Regions from separate parts of the Homo sapiens genome. Here region 2 is linked to region 1. Evidence: promoter capture Hi-C in human tissues and cell types (Jung and others, 2019). All regions are on one chromosome and are shown on one strand. The core of a region is centred on a gene start or on the middle of the fragment in contact, and the rest is flanking DNA. Distances in the headings are between cores, read along the strand shown. Region 1 holds the start of CCDC167 (coiled-coil domain containing 167). Region 2 overlaps BTBD9 (BTB domain containing 9).

The links. Contacts are between HindIII fragments. The study calls those that stand out against the background at their distance.
Region 2: a fragment that was not itself captured here is called in contact with the fragment with the promoter of CCDC167 in region 1 in 1 of the 25 tissues and cell types used here (dorsolateral prefrontal cortex).

Annotation. Positions count from the first base shown.
Region 1 is chr6:37,497,118-37,503,617 of GRCh38, forward strand. CCDC167 (coiled-coil domain containing 167) reads right to left here and starts at 2,776. Exons shown (of 4, transcript NM_138493.3): 1 at 2,705-2,776. The coding sequence starts at 2,746. RefSeq lists an enhancer at 2,769-2,968. The HindIII fragment of the contact is 4,936 bases long and covers 1,114-6,049 here.
Region 2 is chr6:38,518,787-38,525,286 of GRCh38, forward strand. All of the region lies in intron 6 of BTBD9 (BTB domain containing 9), which reads right to left. Among named protein-coding and RNA genes, the nearest start is that of BTBD9-AS1, 40 kb to the left of the region's middle. The HindIII fragment of the contact is 5,406 bases long and covers 42-5,447 here.

The DNA.
Region 1 (6,500 bases), core at 1,526-4,025:
TGCAGATAAAGCTTTAGTGGAACACTGACACACCCACTTATTTACATATTCCTTCATTTACATACTCCTACCTTAGCCTGAATACAGTTGGTTCTTGTTGTTCCTGGTAGCTATGTCCTATAAAGTTGCCTCTAATATTGAATTAGCAAATACCAAACCAGGTGAGGTTCCTGCAAGCCTATGGACACAACATTTTTGCAACCTTGTTTCATGTGTGATTCTGTTTAAAGTGACCTTATTCAATATATATTGTTGATTCATTAACACTGGACTCACAACCAACAGCACTATACGTGCTGTTACATCATGAGTTATATCATGCCTGAACAGTTTATCTAAAAAACCTGTTTTCTTCTACAACACATCACAGCCTTCTTGGATTTAGGAATGCCAGACAGCACTTCAGCCCTATGCTTGGGGTCGGGGGTCGGGGATCGGGGGCACTTTAAACAGCAAAATCAGGCAGTGGCTCACACCTCTAATCCCAGCACTTTGGGAGGCCGAGGTGGGCAGATCACCTAAGGTCAGGAGTTCGAGACCAGCCTGGCCGACATGGCAAGACCCCCGTCTTTACCAAAAATACAAAAATTAGCCGGATGTGGTGGTGGTCTAATCCTGGCTACTAGAGAGGCTGTGTCGGGGGAAGGTGGGGGTGAACACTTGAATGGGAGGTGGAGGTTGCAGAGCCAAGAGTGCACCACTACACTCCAGCCTGGGCGAGAGTGAGATTCTGTCTCAAAAGCAAAACACAGCGAAATACCAATAAAAAACATGAGAATGAAAAAAACAAAACAAAACAAAAACAGGGCACTAAATAGAACACAATAAGGACCCTTGTTTACAGTAGGACAGCTGAAACAAGGCAGGGCATCATCACCTGTTCAACTTTAGCTGAGAACATGGACTGCGAGCGACTCAATTTTTTTCCCACTGCTTTGCATTTGCCACAAAAGCACTGTGAGTACTGATTTTGGGGTTACAAATACATTTTAGCCATTAGGGAAATTCGCAAATGTGGAATCTGTGAATAATGAGGATCAACTGTAGTTGCAACCCAGACCATTTGGCTCTCTAGAAGAGACCATGTCTCTTCTAAAATAGTTACTATCTGACCATTTGCAGACATCTCCTGCCCCTTGCTCTAGCCTGTTAGAAAAAAACTCACTTTCTTGTTCTTGAAGCCACTGAGTTTTGGAGTTTCTCTGTTACTGCAGCTTATTGTACCCTAATGCAGGTTACAAAGTCTATGTTCTTCCCGCCACAAAGTACCATCTCAGTCACCACTCATAAACCATCCTCTTCACATTTCCATCAACCTTTTTCCTACCAAGTGGGCCAATATTTCTCAAGGGATGCCACTAAAACTACCCACATCACCATGGGGTGTGTGTGGCTTGTAAAAAAAAAAAAAATGCAGATTCTGGCCGGCTGTGGTGGCTCATGCCTGTAATCCCAGCACTTTGGGAGGCTAAGGCGGGCGGGCAGATCACTTGAGGTCAAGAGTTCAAGACCAGCCTGGCCAACACGGTGAAACCCCGTCTCTACAAAAATACAAAAATTAGCCAGGCATGGTGGCACGTGCCTGTAATCCCAGCTACTCGGGAGGCTGAGGCACGAGAATCGCTTGAACCCAGAAGGCAGAGTTTACAGTGAGCCGAGATCACGCCACTGCACTTCAGCCTGGACAACAGAGCGAGACTCTGTCTTAAAAAAAAAAAAGCAGATTCCTTGTTAAGAATGCACATCAAAGTCCTACTGAATTACTCGGGGTGTGGGAAGAGTTCAACTCTCCATTTTTAACAAGCCCTGTGACTCTATGCATGCTAAAGTTTGAGAATCACTGAACTCACTAGTAAGCCTGAAGAAGACTATGACCCTGTACCTCTCCTGCAACCTCCGGGAGGATGCCCTAAGGGAAGGAAAACAGGGGAAGCAAGATGAATTTCCAGGAAGACCACCTGTGCTTGATTCCCAGGCTCCACCACTTCCACCATCTCAGCCTGGGTTCCACCTGGAACCTCAATTTCCTCATCTGTACAAACCTCACAGGCTTGCAGTGAGGATTAACAATGCAATGAAAGTAGCACATAGCGGTTGCTCAGTATGTATGTTTTCTTTCCCTTCTATATGCAGCAAATTATTTTTAAGCCATTCAGTGACATCACCAATTCCAGAATTCTCTTTACATATTCCCAAAGTAATTTTGAAGGTACAAGCTTCCATACTCCGGAGGAAAAATTTCCCCTTTTAGAGGATATTTAAACCATTAATAATATACACCAGAATGGGCTCCCTCATCTTTGAGTCCTAGCCCTTTGGGAGTTCTCCTTAGATTCTACAGGTCCCTATTTCTCTGGGGTCTCCCTCACCTCTGTACCCATCCCTTTTGTTCTGTGTCCCCCGCTTTGAGTTCCCTCACTTCTATGCCAGGCCGTCTTTGGGGCTCCCCTTCACTTCCATGTCTCTTCCTCTCTGGAGATGCCCTCTCCAGAGAGTCTGGTTCGCCCATCCGGCACCTCCTCGGGCTCCCTGTCCTCCGGGAACCCCGTGGGCCTTCTCACCCCTCCCGTCCCTCTCCCCAAACCGCGTCGCCCTCTCATCCTACGCTTGGCTCCTCCTCCTATCTATAGCCCAGCCTATCCCTTATCCCGCGGCCAGGAGAAGGCAACTAACGAGGTGGCCCAACCCCCACTTTTCCCCTCACCTCTAGAGCGACGCCCAGATTCTCCCGCTTCTTTTTAGTCATGTTACTTGCCGGGATCCCCCAGTCATCACTGGACGCGCCCACCAAGTCGCTATGTGCGCATGCTCAAGTCTTCGTGCTTCTCCCTCATTGGCCACCGAGTCAGCGGGAGGTGGGGCTGCTGCCGTCGCCATCTTGTTGAGGGGCGCGGCCGGCTTGGTGCGGACATGTTTATGAGGGGCAACCTCTAGCTTGAGACCTCAGCCTAGATGGGTGGAGGGTGGAAAAGTCGGTACAGGGAGGCAGAATGTACAGCCCGGGAGTAGACCTGCCCCTTTCTTCCCCAGTTTTAAGCCGCTTTGCATCACTGAGAGCCTTTTTTAACCCCATGTTCTCTTTCAGTGTGTTTTGTGTTTCAGCAACAACCCCGTCCCTGTTTAGGCCACGCCCCCCATTCAAAGTCTGTCCATCCTTCAAGGCCGGTGCTGGAGCCTTGAGCTTCTCGGCCAATGGAATCTGATAATGGCCCTCTATTGTTATTTCTCCTTTGTGTCTTGACTTCTTTTTTTTTTTTTTTTTGGTTTGTTTTATTGTAAGAACAACCTACAAACATCACAGAAAACATATAACTGAGAAGCAGCATCCTTTATTCTACCAACTTTATCAGTTCCTCTTTGCTTCTGTTTATTCCTCCCAGGCTTGGCCTCACACACAGTATTTTACATTGTTGTAATCGTACTATACTGTACACCATAGACCCACGGCCTTTGAAATGTTTTGACTGTGACCCTACGATAAAAAAATGTATTTTATACCATGGCCCAGTTACCCATGAAACCAAAACCAAAGTTTCACAGTAAGTACCTTTACCTCCTGTAATGCACTCTGTTATTTTGTATTCTTGCCTATTTAATTAAAAAAAAACAAAGTCGGGCACGGTGGCTCAGGCCTGTAATCCTGTGTCTGGAGTTGGTTCCTTCAGGTGGGTTCTTGGTCTCACTGACTTCACGGTGAGTGTTACAGCTCTTAAAGGTAGCACGGACCCAGAGAGTGAGCAGCAGCAGGATTTATTGTGAAGAGCAAAAGAACAAAGCTCCCACATCATGGAAGGGGACCTGAGTGGGTTGCCACTGTTGACTGGGGGATGGCCAGCTTTTATTCCCTTATTTGTCCCCTGTTACAGAGCACTGACTGGTCCATTTTACAGAGTGCTGATTGGTGCATTTACAGTCCTTTAGCTAGACACAGAGTGCTGATTGGTGCATTTTTACAGAGTGCAGATTGGTGCATTTACAATCCTTTAGCTAGACACAGAGCGCTGATTGGTGCGTTTTTACAGAGCACTGACTGGTGCATTTACAATCCCTAGGTAGACACAGAGTGCTTATTGGTGCATTATAATCCTTTAGCTAGACACAGAGCGCTGATTGGTGGGTTTTTACAGAGTGCTGATTGGCGCATTTACAATCCTTTAGCTAGACACAGAACGCTGATTGGTGCGTTTACAATTGTCTAGCTAGACAGAAAAGTTCTCCAAGTCCCCACTCAACCCAGGAAGTCCAGCTGGCTTTACCTCTCAATCCCAGCACTTTGGGAGGCTGGGCAGATCACGAGGTCAGTAATTTGAGACCAGCCTGGCCAACGTGGTGAAAGCCCGTCTCTACTAAAAATACAAAAATTAGCTGGGCGTGGTGGTGGGCGCCTGTAAACCCAACTACTCGGGAGGCTGAAGCAGGAGAAACACTTGAAACTGGAAGGCGGAGGTTGCAGTGAGCCGAGATCGTGCCACTGCACTCCAGCATGGGTGAAAGAGCGAAACTCCATCTCAAAAAAATAAACAAAAACAAGTTGGTGGCAGGACACCTCTTAGGTTTATTTCATGACCCCTTAATGGAGGTTGAACTGCAATTTGAAAAACACTGCCAAGTATGTTTTTCTGTGTCTTTGAAATTATCACTTGCGGTGGCCTCATGTGCCACCAAGGGAGTCTCTCGCATTCTTGCATTGGACATCATTTTATTGACAGTAACTCCAAATATTGCGAAAGCAAACCTTTTCGTGCACACAGCTCTGTCCTCTGGATTCTTTCTTTAAGATAAATTCACAGAAGTAGAATTACTAGGTCAAAGAGTATGAGACCAGAATCAAAGCTCCTTATTTCCTGACCAGTTATCTCTGTTGGTGCCTGTGTTTTTGTATGTGAATAATAACCCCAACTCAGTGTTAGGGGGAAAAATGTTTTCAGATCTGTGTTCTCTTCTTGATAGAGACATTGAGTGATGGAGCTGGAAGGCGTCTGAGATACCATCTCGCCTGGCTGCCTGACTGAGGCCCACAGAGAGAGAGTGTAGTAAATTCTATCTGAACAGGAAGCAGGTTGTTGAGCAGTTGTTTAGTGCAGTTCTCAGCTTAACACCCAGCACAGGAAAAACTGATTCAAGAACATTGTCCATCAACTGTCAATCAACATTTATTGTCAGAACACTCTTCACAGCATTGGTTCCAATCCCGGAAAAACCAGACTCTGTGCTTCCCAATTATCACAGGCACCGGCCCAGGAGAGGTGAGAAGAGGAAGAAAAACACTGTGTTCTTTGAGAAGTGACTCCTTCTGCATTTGTTTGGCACCAAGAAAAAGCCACAGAGATCTGGGTGCGCCTCATGTCGGTCCCTTGTCCATGAAATGATGGGCAATCTGTTGTCTGTCTTCCTGAAGAGCCTCGTGTTTTCCCAACCAAACCTTGTCCCACAGGTCTGATAATGGGAAGAAATGCTTGAAGTGGGGTTGGAATGAGAGTCTATGTGGGTTGTAGTGAAAGGGGAGGCTTTTAGAGGGAGATCAACCTGGATGCCAATCCCAGCTCTGCTTCTTAGCAGCCTGTGATGTGAGGCAAGATACTTCAGCCCCGTAAGCTTCAGCTTCCACATCTATAAAACAAGCACATCATACCAAACTCATAGGGCATTTGTGAGAAGTACTAAGTGGCGGGTGCTGTGGCTTGTGAGTGCCTAGGAGAGGCTCAGCAGGACTGATGAGGCTGCTGCCAGCTTGTCGTTATAGGGTTTTGTTTAGCAATTGTTGCCATGGGTATTTTTTGTTATTATTTTGTTTTCAGTTTCTATCAGCTTTGACACTATTGTATCTGTTGTTATAAATTTGGGGCAAATACTTGGGTGGTTTCCTGCTATCATGGGTGCATAGTTCACTGCAAAAAGGCAGCCCCTTGCAAACACAAGCGTTTCTCTGTAAACAGGAGATGCCCTCTCCACCTGTCTATGTGTCCTTCCTGCTGAGACCATCAATTACGGGTTTCCTTTGCCCCAGACATCGCAGACAATAGTGACCTGCGTGGTGTCAGGGAGGATGCAAGCACCCCAGGTACCCCACTGAGGTCCTTTCATCCCCCTGGCACATACAGAGACCCAGCCTGGATTCCCATGGAGGCTGTTTGCTGAGCCTTAGAGCAGCTTGACTTGCCTCCATGTTGGAAATTCTGCCCATGAGCAGATGGATTACTGTGGGCCAGCTGTCTGTCTGTCTGTCTTTATTACCCCAGGGAGCTGTGGTTCTGAACCTCCTATTGGGGGTTTTAGAACTAAGTGTTTCAGGAAAGTCGAATGCTGCATTGACAGACAGGAGAACTGGAGTCGTTCCTGGCTAGCCCAAGTTCTCACTGCATGACCTTGGGCAGGTCAAGCCTCCTCTTTGGCTCTTAATTTTGTCTGCTCAATGGGTACAGTGGGGAGAACGAGACAGTCACCCTAGGTTCCTGTTTTTCATGACCTTGTTATTTGTAAGACATAACGAGGAAGACATA
Region 2 (6,500 bases), core at 1,495-3,994, 1.0 Mb after region 1:
GGTTGGAGAGGCATGTGAATGGCTACTATAAGGTGCCATTATACAAGGGATAAGGTTAGATTTGAAAAGAACTGGTCTTCACTCTCAAGAGCTTATAATCCATTTTTTATAAGACATATAAAACAATTGGGAAAAAAGTGATATACCAATTAAAGAAAAAATAAAGGAGCACAGGTACCCAGAGTAAAGAAATCATCAGTGAAGGACATCAGAGGCAGTTTTCTAAAAGAGATAAAACCAATACATATGCTTTTTGTGCAGCACTAAATTCAATTAGTGTAATTCAACTTCCAGGAAGCTTTCTGCTGCAGATATGTATAGTTCTATCACTTGAGCACAGCATCCTCTTGCATGTGGGAAATGTGACTTCCTTTACTCTGAGCTCAGGGATGGGCACCAGACCCAAGGTGAACTAGCCAGAGCCATTTTCTTAGATTTTTTAAAACTTGGGATCATAAGGGCTCATAAGGATTTGGGTTACACTGTTGTATGGACTTGTCCTAAGACTTGTGCATTTCTTTGTAAATTTTGTATCAAAAGAAAAAGATAAATAAGTATTGAATTCTATAATACCTATGCTGAAGTATTTAGGAGAAAGTATACTGATAGCTGCAATTTATTTTGAAGTGAATTTTTTAAAGATGCAGTGACAGATGAAGACAGGCTGATAGATATGTGACACAGCAAGCAGAGTAACATACTTGTATTTATATATCCTTGTACTGTAAAGTATACTAAACTGTCACTTTAAAATCCTTTCAACCTTGCTTTTTCATTTGAAAAACTTCATTAATAAAATTTGGGTGTGGGAGGAACTCAAGCTGCAGTCCCACTCTGCTGGCAGTGCTGTGAGCAATAGCTCAGGAGCTCTCTCTGGTCATGTTTTCCAGGGTTTCAGTAAACAAGCATGCAGAAAGAATCAGGAATAAGGAGTGAAAGAGTTTTGAGTTGTCTGAGTTGTCTCCAGCTCCAGCTACCCTTGAGGCCTAGCTGCATCCCTGCCATTTCAGCTGTTACATAAGCCAAGAACTTCTGGTTTGCACCTAAGCTAGATCAAGGTGAGTTCCTACTGCTTACAACCAGAGTCTTGACTAACATACTAGCCTAAGGCAATAATAAGCATTGCAGACAAAGAAAGATAACCACTGTAGCATCACTTATAAGAACAAAATACATAAATTACCTAATCATTCAGTAAAAGAAAAATAGTGACAATTTTATGGTGTTTTAAAATATTAAATGAAAATCTCACAAAACTATATGTATAAAACTATATACACACACATGCATATGCATACACACATACATATACATTATGATCCAATTTTGTAAAAAGAAAAAAACTGACAGAAAAAAAAAATCACATGAAAATACACAAAATTGTCGGCCAGGCACAGTGGCTCACACCTGTAATCCCAGCACTTTGGGAGGCTGAGGTGGGTAGATAACCTGAGGTCAGGAATTCCAGACCAGCCTGGCCAACATGGCAAAACCCCATTTCTACTAAAAATAAAATGAAATAAAATTAGCTGGGTGTGGTGACACGCATCTGTCGTCCCAGCTACTCAGGAGGCTGAGGCAGGATAATCACTTGAACCCGAGAGGCAGAGGTTGCAGTGAGCCGAGATCACACCACTGCACTCCATCCTGGGAGACAGAGCAAGACTCCATCTCAAAACAAAAAAACAAACAAACAAAAAATACACAAAATTGTCAACTTTGGTTATCTCTGGGTTTAGGATGATTTTGTTAAAATTTATACTTTACTTACTAAGTTTTCTTCAATAACCATATATTACTTGTAGAATAACCAAAAAGGAAGTTAGTTTTAAAAAATTAATTTACTGCCATTAAATATTTAAAAGGCCAGGCATGGTGGCTCATGCCTGTAATCCCAGCACTTTGTAAGGCTGAGGTGGGAGGAGCGCTTTAGCTCAAGAGTTCGAGACCAGCCTGGGCAACACAGAGAGACCACATCTCTACTAAATATTAAAAATAAAAAATTTAAAAAAAAGCCAGGCCTGGTGGCGCATGCTTGTAGTCCCAGCTACTTGGGAAGCTGAGATGGGAGAATTGCTTGAGCTCAGTAGAAAGAGGCCACAGTGAGCTATAATTGTGTCACTGCACTCCAGCCTGCTTGACAGAGTGAGACCTTGTCTCAGACAAAAAGAAAAAAAGAAAAAAGATATGGGTTGCTTCCTAGGCACCATTCCCACCATAAATGATCTAAATATTCATATGTGTCTTAAATCTGCCATTCATTTCCCAGGGCCAGGGACACAGGAGCCCAACAGTTAAGATCGTGACCTTACACACACTGTGTACCCACAAAAACTGAAAATAATTAAAAAAAAAAAAAGATATGACCTGTAAAGTCACACCACCTCAGTTCAAATCGCCACTCTGCCCTTTATTGAATGTATGGTTTAGGGAAAATCAGTTAATCTTTTTTACCTTAATTTCTCCATCTACAAAATGTGGAAATAGTACCTTACTATTACAAGTTTAAGAAATAAATGAAATAATATATATAAACATTTAAAACAGTGCTTGAAGCACAGGAGATGTTAACCATCATTGTTACCATTCTTATTAGCAGCTTTTCTACTTTAATACAGGTTGAGTATCCTTATATGAAATGCTTCAGACCAGAGGTGATTCACATTTCAGATTTTTTCAGATTTCAGAATATCTGCATTATACTTACTGGTTGAACATCCCAAATTTAAAATTCTGAAATCTCAAATGCTCCATTGAGAATTTCCTTTGAGCATCAAAAAGTTTCAGATTAGGAAGCATTCAGATTTCAGATTTTCAGATGTGGGAGGCTTACCTGTAACACAATTTAACTCCTCAGGCACTATGAATTCACTCATTTCTACCTCCTCACTACTTCTTTTTTTTTTAAATGGAGTTTTGCTCTTGTCACCCAGGCTGGAGTGCAATGGCACGATCTTGGCTCACTGCAACCTCTGCCTCCTGCGTTTAAGCAATTCTCCTGCCTCAGCCTTCCAAGTAGCTGGGATTATAGGCGCCTGCCACCATGCTTGGCTAACTTTTGTATTTTTAGTAGAGACCAGGTTTCACCATGTTGGCCAGCCTGGTCTCCAACTCTTGACCCCAGGTGATCCACCCGCCTCAGCCTCCCAAAGCGCTAGGGTTAGAGGTGTGAGCTACCACACCCAGCCCCTCCTCTCTACTTCTAAGTTATCAGTTTTTACACCTAGCCTATTCCCTCTTTTCAGTCATGCCCTGTCCTAGGCACAAGACAACATCCCACTGCCCGAGTGTGGGCCTCCTCCTTTCTGAAGCTAAGCTCGCAGGCTCCGTCTTATCCTTCCCATCTGCTCCAGCTCCTTGCCAGTTCATTCCATCTCCCTCTCCCTAATCTTTCAAATGCTTAGAACAGTGCCTGCTAAGGCTTTGTTCTCTACTGGCTTTTCTCTCTCTGGCTGAAAATGTACACATATGCCATTTTTTGAGAAAAAACAAAAAAACAAAAAACCAACAATTTGAACCTACTAGAGCTATTCTATATTTCTTCTTCCTTTCACATTTATACTTCTCAAATTAAAGTCCCTATACTCTACTGAAACTTCACTTAATAAGATTACTAATGGCCTTCTTATTGCCAGATTCAATAACTATTTTAGGCTCATTCTGTTTGTTCTGCAGCCTCTGACATCACTGACTATGTGCTCTGTTTGCAAATGCTTCTTTGACGTCCGTCTGGGTCTTCTCCCAGTTCTTTGGCTGCTTTGCCACATTCTTTCAAACCAGATGTTCTTCAACAAATAAGCCCAGCTCTTCCCATTGCCTCTCTTGGAGATCTTGATGCTTCCCATGGCTTCAAATATTAGCTCTAAGGAGGTGACCATATATCTAACTCCAGTTCTGACTTCTCAGTATCAGTCCTTCTTCTTGAGTTTCAGCCATCCATTTCCAACTACCAGTCAGGGATTTCCAATTGGCCTTTCAATCTAACGATGTCTGAAAAGTCTGATATTCCACCCACAGACAGCTCCCTATTCTAGTTTTCCCTCTGTAGTGAAAGATACCAAGTGTGGGGAGACTGCATACTAGGCAGGAGAAATCTGCTCAAAAAAAGAGTCAGGGCTGGGCACAGTGGTTCATGCCTGTAATCCCAGCACTTTGGGAAGCTGAGGCGGGTGGATCACCTGAGGTCAGGAGTTTGAGACCAACCTGGCCAACATGGTGAAACACCATCTCTACTAAAAATACAAAAATTAGCCAGGCGTGGTGGCACGTGCCTGTAATCCCAGCTACTCAGGAGGCTGAGGAAGGAGAATCACCTGAACCCAGAAGATGGAGGTTGCTGTGAGTTGAGATCGCTCCACTGTACTCCAGCCTGGGTGACAGAGCAGGACTTCGTCTCATTAAAAAAAATAGAGGCAGGCAAAATCCTTTGAATTTTCCATGATGACACCTCTTGCAGACACCTCTTCTTCTCCATTTTTACTGTACTACCCCAGTCTAGCCCTGTGCTATAACATCCTAACTGGTCACCCTGCCACCACTCACCAACCGTCTCCACCAATCTAGCAATCTATTTTATATTAAAATTAAAATATTGCTTGTACTATAACACTTACAAAGATCAAATCCAAACTCCAGACAGTTTGGACTTTCAGAAGTTTGGAAGTCTCTGAGAGTTGGGCCAAAGCCTACTACCCTTGTGCCCTGCCTTCAAACCCTCCTGTTTCAGAGAGCTCTGTCCCAACCAAACCAATCCACTCAGTGCCCTCTACACACCTTGTAGTCTCCCTGTCTTGCATGAACAGGTCTCTCCCCTCCTCTAAGATTATCCAAATGCTATCTGCCCTTCAAATATCTGCTTAATCCCACCATAAGTTCTTCCAACAACATTTTAGCCTACAGTATTTTTTTCATTATCATTAGCAGGCACTGTATCATTAGCAGGCACTTTATAGATAGTAGCTAACTTTATTTAAATCTCACAATAATGCTCTAAGTCAGGTACTGTTATTATCTATATTTAACAGATGGGGAAACAGAGGCACAGAAAAGCTAAACAACTGCTCAGACATATTGCTAATGAATGGCAGATTCACGGTTCACACCCAGGCAGTGTGGCTCCAAAGTCTGTGCTCTTAAACCACTGTGTTCTGCTGCCTATGTGGAATCCTTTGGTATTTCTGACTACACTATTCATTTGTCAATAAGCTGCTTTGAGATATCTCTTCAATTATTAGGTTACAGGACATACTTATGTCTTTTCTCCCCAATTAGAGAAATTTCTTAGACAGCAGAGGGTGAACTTTTAATTATTTTGATTTCTCCGCAATTACTAATCACTATCAATAAATATTAATTTATAAATTAAATATAAAATATAAGAAAGTGACAGAAATAAGAGTAACTAGCCAAGATTTTAAAATCTGAGAGGTGACTTCAAACAATTTTTAAGTATACAAAAGGTTTAATTAAAGGAAAGTGGTTTTTAGCTGAGTTTCCATTTCCAAATGATAGAACAGTATCAGGAAAAAACTAATTATTACATATTATGAAATGTAAGACATACTGAAAAATTTTTCTTCTCCTTAGAATTCATAAGAAGTTAAAAAAATCCCAGAAAAAAACTGAGTAGTCTTGCCTGAAAGTAGAGAAATGGATTAGTATTAGAACAGTAAGCACGTAGCAAGAATTAAATCAATGTTTATTTAACAAATGAATGAGCTACCTTGACCACAAAATTATCTAAGTTGTCCCTTATAGAACATGATTTTAATGCAGAACTGTAGTCCAGTAAGTCCAACATTATGAGTCTTCTGAAAAATGTACACAATGACTAAATAACATAGGGTTATTTAGTTCTATCCATTTAGAAACTGAAACTGGTTTTAGTTTTGCCATAGCTGATATTCATTTTGGCAATATTTAAGTAACAAATTCAGTCACTTCTTGAAGCCACCCTTGCTTGATAAACATTATAAAATTAACCCACAAAGAGTTTTGAACTCTGCCCTCTAGCTAAGTTTTTCAAGACTCACAATAAAGGAGTCAACAGAGATCAGAATAATTCATTCCTTCCTTTTGTCCTTCCTTCCTCTCTTTATCTCTCTGTATCTGGAGTAGCTGGTAGTGTCAAACAAAGGAAGGCCAGCAAAACTGACTAGCTGGTTAGTGTCTGGGTGATCAGGCCCTTTGAGATGACTCACCCTTAGTAAAATTTATTTAAGACTGACATAGGCACTAGAATGGTTTATTATTTTAATATTTTGTCACATGGGGGATATCATGATGGCACGATCAGCACTGATATGGTTTGGCTGTGTCCCCACCCAAACCTCATCTTGAATTGTAATCCCCATGTGTCGAGGGAGAAAGTTAGTTGGATCACAGGGGTAGTTTCCCCTACACTGTTCTCATGACAGTGAGTGAGTTCTCACGAGATCTGATGGTTTTATAATCAGTTTTCCCTGCTCTTGCTCGCTCTCTCTCCTGCAACCTTGTAAAGA